Linked DNA regions of Homo sapiens: region 2 is linked to region 1. Evidence: promoter capture Hi-C in 16 types of primary human blood cells and fetal thymus (Javierre and others, 2016). All regions are on one chromosome and are shown on one strand. The core of a region is centred on a gene start or on the middle of the fragment in contact, and the rest is flanking DNA. Distances in the headings are between cores, read along the strand shown. Region 1 holds the start of EFCAB14 (EF-hand calcium binding domain 14). Region 2 overlaps ATPAF1 (ATP synthase mitochondrial F1 complex assembly factor 1).

What was found. Contacts are between HindIII fragments. The CHiCAGO score rates a contact against its expected background, and 5 or more counts as called.
Region 2: a fragment that was not itself captured here is called in contact with the fragment with the promoter of EFCAB14 in region 1 in 2 of 17 cell types (megakaryocytes and erythroblasts); the score reaches 6.0 in megakaryocytes.

The regions. Positions count from the first base shown.
Region 1 is chr1:46,715,336-46,721,927 of GRCh38, reverse strand. EFCAB14 (EF-hand calcium binding domain 14) reads left to right here and starts at 2,814. Exons shown (of 11, transcript NM_014774.3): 1 at 2,814-4,025; 2 at 5,485-5,633. The coding sequence starts at 3,841. RefSeq lists silencers at 2,590-2,639, 2,960-3,009. The HindIII fragment of the contact is 11,051 bases long and covers 1-4,334 here.
Region 2 is chr1:46,628,092-46,635,443 of GRCh38, reverse strand. ATPAF1 (ATP synthase mitochondrial F1 complex assembly factor 1) reads left to right here. Exons shown (of 9, transcript NM_001394565.1): 9 at 1-2,707. Among named protein-coding and RNA genes, the nearest start is that of MOB3C, 15 kb to the right of the region's middle. The HindIII fragment of the contact is 1,030 bases long and covers 3,723-4,752 here.

The DNA of each region.
Region 1 (6,592 bases), core at 1,565-4,064:
ACTCCTGCAGCCTCCCCACCCATGACCAGCCCACTGGCCAGTCATGGGAGAGATCTCCACCCACAGAGAGCACAGGCTCTGGCTGACCAGAAGTCCCTGCAGCGGGGGTGGTATGTCCTCAGCCCTGCCCCACTCCCCTGGGTTCCTCAGTCCCTGGTTCCCTGGGAACCTGTATCATCTACAACAAAGGAGGGCCACCCCACCCTCGGGCCAGCCACCTCTCCTGCCTGGGGCTTCTGGTGACCACAGGATGTGTTTCAGAAATGGTTCTTGAAGTCAGGAGCCTCACCTGTCTATCCCCAGTCCTTCAGGGAAGCATTAGTGAAGAACTCTCCAGTAAAACTTTCTGTGGTGGTGGAATTGTACTATTACTTGCTGCCTGGTAGCCACTTGCCACATATGGCTACTGGACACTGTGGCCAATGATACTGAAGAACCAATTTAAAATTTGTATTTTGTTTTAATTATGTTAAATGTAGATTTAAATTGTTATATGTGGCCAGTTTGGCTACTGTATTGGGCAATGAAGCTCTAGAAACAAAAGGGGACAATACACCATGACTTGGGGCTTCAAAAACACTTTCACATTCATCTCATTGTCCTGTGAAATAGGTGTTTATCCCCATTTTACAGAGGAGAAAACTGAAGCTCAGAGAAACTAAACGGCTTCCATGCTGATGGAGCCAGGAAGAAGTAGAGACATGATTGAGTCCCAGGTTTCTTGATTTTGATTCCAAAAGTCCACTCATACCTCTTTGCAACACTGCCCACTTATGTAGTCATCACATATTTATTGGGTCATCGTTATTTAGGAGTACACTTCTGGGCTAGACACTTAAAAACAAATCAGATACAGGCCCAGGCTTTGCGAGAATCCTTGGACAAAAGCAGCGTAATTGCCACAGTAAGAATATGGGCATAAAAATTACTTTAAGTGACTTTCTTCCAAGTAGCTCAAAGCACTTTGCTTTAAATTCCATTTATATCTGATGACTTCCCAATTGATATTTCAGGCCCCAACCTGTGCCCAGAGAACTCTCAATGGGTATACCAAACAGCCTCCATTTGAATATTGAATTGGCTTGTCAAACTTGTCCCAAACTTGCTCTACCCCATCTCAATAAATAACAATTCCTTGCTTCCAGTGTTTCCACCGCCAAACCCTCTCTTCTCTTCACACCTTTCATCTAATCTATCAGCAAAAATTGTCAGCTCTGTCTTCAAGAAACATCCAGAATGCTCTCCATCTCTGCTACTGCCTCTCTAATCTATCAGCATCATCTCTAGCTGGACTGTAACAAACTGCTCTCCTGTGTTCCTCACTCTCCCCCCACTTTTTTCTACAAAGTAGCCAGAGTAATTTTTTCCTTTATTTTATTTTATTTTATTTATTTATTTATTTATTTATTTATTTATTTATTTATTTATTTATTTATTTTTGAGACGGAGTCTCGCTCTGTTGCCAGACTGAAGTGCAGTGGTGCAATCTCGGCTTGTTGCAACCTCCGCCTCCCGGTTTCAAGCCATTCTCTTGCCTCAGCCTCCCAAGTAGCTGGGATTACAAGCGCGCACCACCACGCCCAGGTAATTTTTGTATTTTTAATAGAGACAAGGTTTCACCATATTGGCCAGGATGGTCTCCATCTCCTGACCTTGTGATCCGCCCACCTCAGCCTCCCAAAATGCTGGGATTACAGGCGTGAGCCATCGCGCTGGCCCAGAGTGAATTTTTTTTTTTTTTTTTTTTTTTACGGAAAAGCCAGAGTATGCTACCTCTCAGCTTAAAGCCCCCAGTGCTTTCCCAAAGTCCTTTCAGTGATCCATAAGGCCCTAAAGCCCTGGCCTCTGATGCTTCTCTGACCTCATTTCCTATCACTCTGCTCCTTGCTCTTCTGGTCCAGCCACAACAGGTCTTCCTGGTCACTCCTTCCTGCAGCCACTGCACAGCTCATTCCCTCACCTCTCCTCCGATAAGCTGACTAAATGTTCCCTTTTCACAGAGGCACTCCCCATCACCTGACCGTGTTTCAATTTTCATCATAACACTTATCACCTCCTGACATTTAATATGTTTGCCTATTGTTGCTCTCCTCCCTCTAGAGTATAAATAAACTGCAGGAATAGATTGGCAGATAAGATACACGATGCTCAGTTAAACTTGCATTTCACATACACAATGAATAATTTTTTAGTGTGAGGATGTCCCAGATGTTGCATGGGATGTCTTAATGCTAAAAAATTGTTTGCTGTTTCTCTGAAATTCAAACTTTACTGGGTGTCCTACATTTTTATTTGCTAAATCTGGCAACACTATACAGGAAGACAAGGACCCTGGTTATTTTGTTCATGGCTGTATCCCCAGCGCTAGAACAGCTCCTGACACGTAGTAAGTAAGCTCTCAATAAATATTTATTGACTGAATGAATGTGTTAATTAATCTGAAACGCGCCTAAACTTTTAACAGCCTGTGTGAGAGTCAGAGAGGCGGAGCCTTCAGACTTGGTTAGTCCAGGGGGCGTGGGCGGCTGATGAACTTTCGAAGTAGGTCGAGCAGCCGGGCGCTTTGCCTGCCCCGCCCGCGCTCCGCAGGATGCAGGACTCCACCCGGCTCAGGTTCGCAGCAGGTCCCGGAAGCCCTCCTGGGGGCGGGGCCACCCTAATCGGCAGGTGGGACCCAGCCCCAGCCGGGGCAGGGCCCCTTTAACGCCCCACCTCTCCGCCACGACTTTCGCCCCGGCGTGACGTCACCCCAGCGGGCGACCAATGGGAGTGCGGCTTACTGGCAGGCGGCGCAGGCGGCCGCTGCCAAAGGGGAAGTGATCTGGGGCTGGAGCGATGGCCCGGGGCTGGAGCTCGCGGCCGCCGCCGCCGCAGCCGCCGCCACCAACGCCAACAACAACGTGTCGGGAGCAGCCGCGGCCGAAGCCGGAGCAGGGGCCGGAGTCGCGGCTGGAGTGGGGCCTGCGCGTGTGAGTGGCCGAGAGTTGCCCGTGCCGGAGACCTCAAACTCCGGGCGGGAGCGCTTTCGGTCGGCCGAGCCGCCGTCGCCCGCGGCACCGTGTCCCCAAGGCCCAGACAGCGGGGCGGGGGTCTATCAGGCGCGGGACTGGCTTCTCTCAGGCCGACCCTTCTAGCCGGGCTCCGGATCTTCCTCGGCCTCGGGCCCCCTTCACGTTCAGGACGGAGGCCGGAGAACGGTGATCATCACACACCCCAGCCGGCTTCCTGGCCAGGGCATTTTCTCTGCGGCCAAGCAGTGTTGGGATTGTAGCTGCTGGGAGCCCCCTCCTGCCGCCACCTCTCCTGCAAGGAAGGGACTGACGCGTTCCCACTTTCTTACTCTGCACCTCCCCACTCTCTTCCCATTCAAGAACGAGTTTCTCTTCCCTCTCCATTGGAAATCTTGCTCCGGAGGTCCGAAACACGTATTTTAAGCGTGCCCTTCCTCACCTCCTGGAGCACCCTTAGAAGTATTGCCTACTTATCCGGGCTGAGAATCCTTCATTTTTGACCTGGCTTTTTTTTCGCCCTTTGGGAGATAAAGGTCCCTCTCCACCCTCTACTAACACTCTGCACCCAAGGCCTTATCCTTTGGGGTCACCAGCTCCTTGGCCATTTCTATGTGATTTCCCCCACCCATCTGAGTTCCAGTTTCCTCTGGGCTCCAATCTCCAGTCCCTGGCGGATCTGGTCAGTCCCACCCCTAGGTGGGAGTGACCAGGGGGCTCTGGCCCAGGATTCCCAACCCTGGAAGGCAGCTCCAAGGCAGGAAGAGAATTGGGCATCGGGTACGAACCTGGCAGCTCAGGAGTCGGGGCTCCACTCACCCCACACAAAAAGATGAAAAAGCGCAAAGAGCTCAATGCATTGATTGGTTTGGCTGGGGACAGCCGGAGAAAGAAGCCCAAGAAAGGCCCAAGCAGTCACCGCCTGCTTCGCACTGAGCCTCCCGACTCAGACTCTGAGTCCAGCTCCGAAGAGGAAGAGGAATTCGGTGTGGTTGGAAATCGCTCTCGCTTTGCCAAGTGAGTAGTGGTGAAAGGTGGAATGGGAAGAAGGCATCTCCTTGCACTACCAAGGGGCCACATTGACAGGAAGGAGAAAGGAAGTCCTTAGGAAGAAAAAAGGGTGTAGGCCTTGGAAGTCAAAGAGGGAAAAACGGTTTTAGGGAGAAGGTAAGTTCAGATCCTGAATGAAGAATAAGTTAGAGATCTGTCTTTAGGTGTAGAAAGAAAAGCTCCAAATCTGAGGTGGAAATGTGGACTTGGAGAATGTGCCAAGAGCCCAGGGAGTCCTAAAGAAGCAAAGAATGGAGACAGAGGAGCAGAGAAGCTTTGGGGACTAGACTTTTTAAAACAGTGTAGAACAAAGGAGAAGCAGAGACTTTAAGACTGCAGATTATTTCGTTTTTGCACTCTTGATGAGTCTGAATATTGGTGGTGGGGAAATATGGTGAGAGATATACTGTAGGAAGTATGAGCCTTGAGAGTAGGTGGGGTCGGGGGGCAAAAGAAGAGGCATCATTTTCCCTAGCCATTCATAGGTGGAGAGACCACTAGGCAAATCAAGTAGTAAGATTTGAGGACATTGGGATTGGGGCTCAGGATGGGAAAGGACTAAAGGGAACTTCAAAAACGTCCTTTGACTCTCTCAGAGCACACTAAAAGAAAAGAGGATTCTGCTGAGGATGTAGAAACAATGGCTAGGCAGAAGGTCGGGGTGCTGACATTGAGTGGTTGGTTGGTTTAAAATGTCTTGTTTTGTTAAAGGAAGAGTTTGATTTCTAATGAGCTTTGTCAGCTAAGGCTGTTAAGGGCAATCCTGGGTTTGGGTTATGAAGATCAGTTGAAGTGTTACCTTCATCAGAAGGTACCTGGAGTAGTAACCCTACTAAGTTAGTTTAGACCTTGAAGGTTGGTTGATGTTTTGTGTGAAATCCAGCCCCTTCTATGTTTCCTTACTTCTGAGCCAATAAGCTAGAATACACCAGGTGTCCACTTAAAACTACAGATCCTGTTTCTTTCATTTCTTTTGCAGTAAAACTTGCTCAAAAGTTTATAAAGTTTCAGTAAACTGGAGCAAGGTTCCCCGGAGTGAGTATGTATTTCAGAGAGAAATCAATAGGCAAATTCCAGTGCAGAGATGGAATTGCAGAGAAACATTGGTCTTTACACTTTTGTGACCTGAGCTTGTATTCAAAGACCTCCCTCCTGATAATGACAGCTGCAGTGCCTTTAGGTTCTTCCTTTTACCTGCAGGAACTCCTTCTGTTTTATGTGACATTTGAAACCTTTGTATCCAGTAGATGAACCCTTAATAGGTCATATTATTTATTCATTTAAGTGCTTTACCCTGCCTCCCCTGGTTAATTCACTGGTTATTCATTTAAAGGAGATAATTGCATGGCAAAACGTGTACTATTGCTAATAAAGCTATACCCATAATCACTTTTGTACTCATGGTTGAATTTGTCCTCTTGAGCAGGGGAGACTATTTACGATGCTGCAAGATCTGTTATCCGCTCTGTGGTTTTGTCATCCTTGCTGCCTGTGTTGTGGCCTGTGTTGGCTTGGTGTGGATGCAGGTTGCTCTCAAGGAGGATCTGGATGCCCTCAAGGAAAAATTTCGAACAAGTAAGTAAGTGGTTACTCTCTTTTTTTTTTTTTTTTTTTTTTTTTTGAGACAGGGTCTTGCTCTGTCGCCTAGGCTGGAGTACAGTGGCGCAATCTCGGCTCACTGCAACATCCGCCACCCAGGTTCAAGTGATTCTCATGGTCAGCCTTCTGAGTAACTGGGATTACAGGTGTGTGCCACCACACCCAGCTAATTTTTTTGTCTTTTTAGTAGAGACGGGGTTTCACCATGTTGGCCAGGCTGGTCTCAAACTACTGACCTCAGGTGGTCCACCTACCTCGGCCTCCCAAAGTGCCAGGATTACAGGCGTGAGCCACCACACCCAGCAGTGGTCACTCTTTTCAGGGTGTAATCCTGGACTCCTTTCCAGGTTCTGGGACAAAGTCAACCCTGCTGAACGAAGATTTTTGCCCATTCTAGTGAAGCAATTATACGTTCCTCTCAGTATTTTTATACTCTTTTTGAGCTCTCTGCTTGAATGTTGTAACACTTATTTGTTTTTAAACTCACAAATAAAAGGCAGTGCTTATGCACCAGCAGGACAAGTAGCATCTGAAATAATGGCATTGCAGTCAATGCTTAGCGTGCAAAAGGCAAGAGACTCCTACCCTAGGGGTAGGAGTCTAGAACTTGGTGTAACCTCTACTTATGGCTTGCATCTCCCCAAGCATAAAGTGGCAATGACAACACTGGGCTATTCCTTCCACCTCACAGGGCCATTTGAGAAAGAATGTGGGAGCATCTGTCAAACGATTGCCTCTTTAGAAGGACTGAATAGGAGCATAGGAATGGGCAATAATAAGAGTAGCTAACATTTGTGGAAGGCCTACTCTGTGCCAAGTCTCAAATCATTTTCTTTACAAAATAATCCGGTGAGATGGGTATTATTTTTATTATTTTGTGCTCTTAGAAGGATTAAGTAATTTGTTCAGTGATTAAGTATGACAGAGCTGAGCGT
Region 2 (7,352 bases), core at 2,988-5,487, 88 kb after region 1:
TATAGCTCCCAAATGATGAGTTTGTCATCTTTATGAACTCATGACAGGATAATAAGCTTGAAGACCTGCTGTAGTTAGATATGGGCTTTAATCCTTCCCAGGCACCAGTCAGCTGAACAAAAGCATAAGCCAAACATCCTGTTTAAACTGTAGAATAACCAGATATTCCCATCAGGTTAAAGACTTCATCTAGATGATGCCCCCCAGAGATGCCTTTAGTGTAAGTAGCTGGCTTGGGGTATCAGCAAATTTCAGGTATAGTTAGATAAACAGGTACAGGGCCTGCATACTATTAAACCATAGTTTGTGGCACCCGCTTTTCTAACTCCACCTGTTAGAAGCTATGTGTTTGAAGGAATGAATCAGTGCAGTATAAATAAAATTCTTTTGTAAGGAGAAGATTAATCCTGGTTTGCATGATTTTTTTAAAAACAACTCTAAACATGATACGAAAAAGTGGATGAAAGCAAATGTTCCCAGATTGGATGTGGGGAAAATATAGCAATAATTTTTTTTTTAAGTCTGGCTTACAATGTTTGTTATACAAAATAATGAAATCTGAGTTATGTACTGTCCATTGTGTCAGGGCTATGGGCTGATTTTATCAAAACTCATCTTGGGACTGAAAAATTGTTTGGAATGCCAGAAATAAGAAAGTTGTTCTCCAGAGCTGGAAACCCATCTTTCGTTTGTAGTGTCACTGTTGTGGCTCCAAGCTCAGTGATAGGAAAGGACGGTGGTTACACACCAGCCTTCTGAACCCAAGGCCCCCAGTATTGTTGTCAGCTGCCTTTACCATGGCATTTCTTTCTCTTTCTTTTTTTCCTGAGATGAAGTCTTGCTCTGTCTTGCCCAGGCTGGAGTACAGTAGCGTGATCTCAGCTCGCTGCAACCTCTACCTCCCTGGTTCAAGTGATTCTGCTGCGTCAGCCTCCTGAGGAGCTAGGATTACAGGCGCATGCCACCATACCTGGCTTATTTTTGTATTGTTGTAGAGACAGGGTTTCACTTTGTTGGCCAGGCTGGCTGGTCTCGAACTCCTGGCCTCAAGTGATCCACCACCTTGGCCTCCCAAAGTGCTGGGATTACAGGTGTGAGCCACCGTGCCTGGCCTGACATTTCTTTATTGATCTAACATGCTCCACTCTGCTGCTCCTGCCTAAGATCTGGTTATATGACACTGAATGTGGTGAGTGGGAATTTAAGCAGTATTCGCAGTTTGTGTGTGTGTGTTTTCTTCCTTCCAGAAGAATTTTTATAGGTTGGGCCTGTCCCTAAGCTCTTTAAATAGGGTGGACATCCCACTATTCTCTGAGCCGTGTCTATTTTGTTGCACCTTTGAGTCTATGTATTGAGAGAGACAGATAGTATTTTTTTAAACTGGGGAAGCTGCTATCCTTTCACTATTTCTCTAAAGGTTGAGCTGTTAACTAATGTAAATTCTGGACCTGCTTCTGGTCCTGGCAGTTTATCTTTTGAGAAACTTGAGTCTTATCTGCCCTGCCATTTTCATTAAATGCCTTCTGACCTTCTGAATGTTTTGGGTCCCAAGAATTTTTGACATCAGATGGGGTTGTTTTTATTGGTATCCAGTTATGTTTGCTTGTCTTTCCAGATGGGCCCAGTTATTAGCCATACATAGTACATTGATACACCTCCACCAGCGGGTGAGGAAATGATGGAAAAAGGAGTAAGAAGTGGCCATTCGTTTTAATCATTCCTCCTGGATTTGTCCTCAGTCCCCAACTGCCAAGTAGGATGTGTCCATGGATAAATGTGTGGGGCATGACTAAAGTACCACGTAGCTGTTCTTTATATTTATTTACCTAGAAAGATCTGGCAAAGAACTCAAAGAAAATTGTACCATTTAATCAGTAAATTTGTCCCCTGGTGCTAGCATGGTGTTATAGAAAGTGGACAGGCTTTAGAGTTAAGTGAATCTGGGTTCATATGTTAGTGTTGCTATTCATTAGCTCTATACTGTTGAACAAATTGCTTAAACTATCTAATTTTGGGGTTTTTTTTCCATCTAAAATAGGGATAATAATATCTACCTCATAGGATTATTGTGAGAATTAAATTAACTTCACTATAGTAGAAAATATCAACTACCATCCTTTTCTCTACTTCCCTTGCCCCTCATTAAAGACTAATACAAGTTAGCATTTCAGATGTGTAGATCATTCTTTATTCCAGTTAAAAGAACAAACTTTATCTCATCAGTTCTGAAACTTTAAGATGCAGTAGCATCACCTAAAGTGCTTTTAAAATGCAGATTCTCAGGCCTCAACCGTACACCACCCCCCCACACACGTACTAAATCAAGAATATGTGCAGAAGGTACTGGGAATCTACTTGTTAATATGTGCTCCAAATGATTCTGATGTAGGTAATTAGCCAGCCACACTTTGAGAACCACTGCCTTATCTATTCTTTACAAAAATGTACATTGCCAGGTCTTTCTTTCCTGTGGATGCTAACTATAGGATATTTAGGTTCCTCTGTTCTTTGTCTCCCATAGTGGCCCCCTTTGCAAACTCCAAATACATTATATTTATTTATTCTTGTGTCTTTTTTCCCCCACTAGACTGTGAGCTCCTTGAGGGCCAGGACTTATCTCTGTTCGCAGTGCCAAGGACATGGCCTGGACCATAGAAGATACTCAGTTTTTTGTTGAATAAATAGGTAATATGGATTTCAACCAAAACATTGTCTTGTGTATGTACCTGCATGTAAATACTCTAGATTTAAAAGAATCTCTTAATACACATAGATCGAGAATTTGTTGAGTAGAAATATTTGCAAACCAAGATACCAAGTTATACACAGTTCTCTGTACCTCACCTAATCCACTGGCATTACCTTGGTGGACCATTACACAGTACAACTTAACAGCTGCTCACAGAGCATCTATTCTGCAGCCACTATGTTAAGTGCTGGACACAGAAAGATGAGTAGAGTATGATTCCTGCTCGCAGGCTCTGTTTTAGCCACTGCCTGTTTCTCTCTTGCCTCTGATTCAGTGCCTCACACCTACACCTGATTATAGTTTGCTTTGTCTAGTTCTTGGATGTTCATACTGGTACTTCTTTCTTCTCCAACCAGTTTGGAAGCTGGAGCCACATGTTTTGCTTTGCACTCTCCATACTGACCTTTTGTTCAGTCTTGGAGAAGAGGTACTAATGCCCACTTCCTAGTCATTTGATTTGGCATTGAGTCAGCATTCATTCACACTTATTGAGCACCTTTTTGCCAAGCACTGTTATAAAAAACTGGATAATATAGCAATGAACATGGCAAATAAGGCTCCTGTTCTCATGTAGTTTATATTCTTGTAAAGAAGACAAGTAAATCAATAAAATTATTTTACATACTGGTAGTGCTATGAAAATTTAAAAATAATATTTTAGACTATGGAGTGGAGGCAATAACTTAATGGTCAGGAGAGGCATCTCTGCAGCAGTGGCAGCTGATACATGAGCTGGGGAAAGAGAACCAGGTAAAGAGAACAGCAAGTGTTAACGCCCCGGAGCAGAGCCAAGCTAGGAATGCTTGTTTCTGGACAAATATAAAGATTCAGTATCTACCCTTTAGGAGCCTACAGTTCAGCGGCATGACCTGACATGAATGATTACAATACAAGACAAACTGATCAATGCCGTCTCAGAAGGGGCAAAGAGAGTTAAGGAACTCCCCCCGCATGCTATGGAGGATGCAAAGCTTGCCAGGCTCTGGTACCCACCCATGAAGCACTTATGGCTTAATGGGGAATAACAGGTAGACAGTGTTAAAGTCTCAAAGGCTATATGTTTCTTGCAATAGACAAGAGGTACTGTGGGTTCAGTGCTGGCCTCCCAAGCTACAGTCACGTACTACATAACAATGTTTTGGTCACGTTAGATTGCATATGCAACTGTGGTCCCATAAGATTATAATGGAGCTGAAAAATTCCTATTGCCTAGTGACATCATAGCTGTGGTAATGTTATAGCACAATGCATTATGTGTTTGTGGTGATGCTGGTGTAAATCTACTACACCAGCATAGTGTATAGGGGTATAGGGTATAAAAGTATAGTGTACAGGGGCCGGGTACGGTGGCTCACGCCTGTAATCCCAGCACTTTGGAAGGCCGAGGCAGGTGGATCCCTTGAGTTTAGAAGTTCAAAACCAGCCTGGACAGCATAGCGAGACCTTGTCTCTACAAAAAAAATTTAAAAATTAACTGAGCGTGGTGGTGCACGCCTGTAGTCCCAGCTACTCAGGAGGCTAAGGTGGGAGGATCACTTGAGCCCGGGAGGTTGAGGCTACAGTGAGCTGGGATCACACTGCTGCACTCCGGCCTGGGCCACAGAGCAAGACCCTATCTCAAAAAATAAAAAGGTATAGTGCATAAAACTATGTACAGTACATAATGCTTGATAGTAAATGACTATTACTGGTTTATGTATTTACTGTATTATTTAGAGTGTGCTCCTTCTACGTATAAAAAATACTAAGTCAATTGTAAAACAGCCTCAGGCAGGTCTCTCAGGAGTTGTTCCAGAAGAGGGCATTGTTCTTATAGGAGAGGACAGCTCCATGTGTGTTATTGCCCCTGAAGACCTTCCAGTGGGACAAGATGTGCAGGTGGAAGTCAGTAATGTTGATGATCCTGACCCTGTGTAGGCCTAGGCTAATGTACATGTTTGTGTCTTAGCTTTTAACCAAAACATTTAAAAAGTAAAAAATAAAATTTTTTAAAGAAAAAAGCTTACAGAATAAAGATAGAAAATATTTTATACAGCTATACAGTGTGTTTTAAGCTAAGTGCAATTATAAAATAGTCAAAAGTTTTAAAAATTAAAAAGTTTATAAAGTTAAAAAGTTATAGTAAGCTAAGGTTATTGAAAAAAGAAAAATATTTTTATAAATTTAGTGTACAGTGTTTATAAAGCCTACTGTAGTGTACAGTAATGTCCTCCTCAGTCTTCATATTCACTCAGAACTCACTCACTGACTCATCCAGAACAACTTCCAGTCCTGCAGGCTCCATTCATTGTAAGTGTCCTATACAGCAATATCATTTTTTATCTTATACTGTATTTTTACTGTACCTTTTCTATGTTTAGATACGATAGATAAGTATTTACCCTTATATTACAGTGTCCACAGTATTCAGCACAGTAACATGCTGTACAGGTTTGCAGCCTAGGAGCAATAGGCTATATGCCATCTAGGTTTGTATAAATACATCCTATGATGTTTGCACAACAACCAAATCACCTAATGATACATTTCTCAATGTAGTCTCCATTGTTAAGCAACACTTGACTATATACACATTAACAATAACCACTAACATTTACTAAGGGCTAACCATATACCAGGCACTGTGCTAAGCCCTTACATGGATTATCTCAATCCTACCAACCCTATGAGGTTGGCAGGAACCTGCTGGTCAGTGACATGTGCTGCTCTCTCCTTGTACCCTCATGCCCCAACTCCAGCTCAGAAAAGAGAGCAACCAGCCAGGCACAGTGGCTCATGCCTGTAATCCCAACACTTTGGGAGGCCAAGGTGGGCCGATCGCTTGAGACCAGGAGTTAGAGACCAGCCTGCTCAACATAACGAAACCCCCTCTCTACTAAAAATACAAAAATTAGCTGGATGTGGTGGCACACACCTGTAATCCCAGCTACTCAGGCTGAGGTACGAGAATCACTTGAACCTGGGAGGTGGAGGTTGCTGTGAGCCCAGATTGTGCCACTGCACTCCAGCCTGGGTGACAGAATGAGACCCTGTCTCAAAAAAAAAAAAAAAAAAAAGTAAGTCATGGTTGGCTCTGGAACCAGCCCTGAGAAACATGTCTCCCAATTTTCTTGCTGGTAACTAAAGAACAAAATGCATGCATTATATACCTCTGATTCCTCCAGACAATTTTGCAAGACATCATGTTCTAACTAGGGAAGACTTCCTTCGGAGAACTTTGGTCTTGTCAATTCTTCTGATGTGACAGGTTGATAACAACATCTTTATCCTTGTTCTGCTAAAAGGGAGAGTAGGAGCACAGAAAGGGAAGAGATGACTTCAAGGTTGCTGTCTGCATCAGGAGCCAACCCAGGAATAATAATAAGTGTGTCCATGCTCCACACTTAATAGGATCATTTGTAATGTCCACTGAGCAGGCTCATTCTTCACATTCACTTGAACAGGGCTACTTCTACGCTCTTCAGGCTTTAGGAACTGGAATATCTACAAGAAAAATTGGTTCAAACCACTTAAGAATCATTACAGGTTCCCTAGGGCTTTCTGGACAAAGTCCTTTTAGATCAGCTCACAGGAGCTTCAGGATCCAGTGCATGGTGTCTTTTCCAGGCTCATTTTGTGCCTCTCCTACCTACTCCTTTGGCTCCAGCCATTCTGGATAACTTGCAGTTCCCTAAACACATTGTGCTCTTCCTACCTCTGTTCTGCTCTTTTCTAATACATTTGCCTGCTTCAAATGCCCATTCCTCCTTAAGTTAATTCAAAGCTTCACTGTAGTATCCCTATGAGAAGCCTTCCCTGAGACCTATTCCCCTCCACATGGCCCCCCTGCAAGGCTGGCTTCCCCACCAGAATGAATAGCCCTTGGAGACTGGGATCATATCTTACTGGACATTATATTCCAAGTGTCCAGCACGAAACCCGGCAGAGGGATAAGATACTCTGTGGATGCTGAACAAACTCCGTTTGAGTGACCACTAAACTCAGACCACCTGAGCCTACAAACATCGCTTGCACAGTGAGATCCAGCTCTGGCAAACACATTGTGGTTATGTCCCAGCCCAAGACAGTGGTCATTTTGCTTGCTCTTATTGCAGAGGCTGCATATGGAAAACCAAGCCAAGGGACCAACAGAGAAGGCAGTCAGGTCCAGGGTTTGTAAGCAGAAAGAACTGAGAGATGATGATGTGAACAAACTTTTGGAGCAAAACAATTATTTTAAGTACCAGGCTGGCACTTTCAAGTTCTTGTCTTGCCTTGCCAAACCTTAACATTAAAAAAGACCTGGTTGGGTTGGTGGCTTACGCCTGTAATCCCAGCACTTTGGGAGGCCGAGGCAGGCAGATCACGAGGTCAGGAGATCAAGACCATCCTGGCTAACATGGTGAAACCCCGTCTCTACTAAAAATACAAAAAAATTAGCCAGGTGTGGTGGCAGGCACCTGTAGTCCCAGCTACTCGGGAGGCTGAGGCAGGAGAATGGCGTGAACCCAGGAGGTGGAGCTTGCAGTGAGCGGAGATTGCACCACTGCACTCCAACCTGGGGGATAAAGCGAGACTCGTCTCCAAAAAAAAAAAAAAGACCTTACAGGCTGGGCGCGGTGGC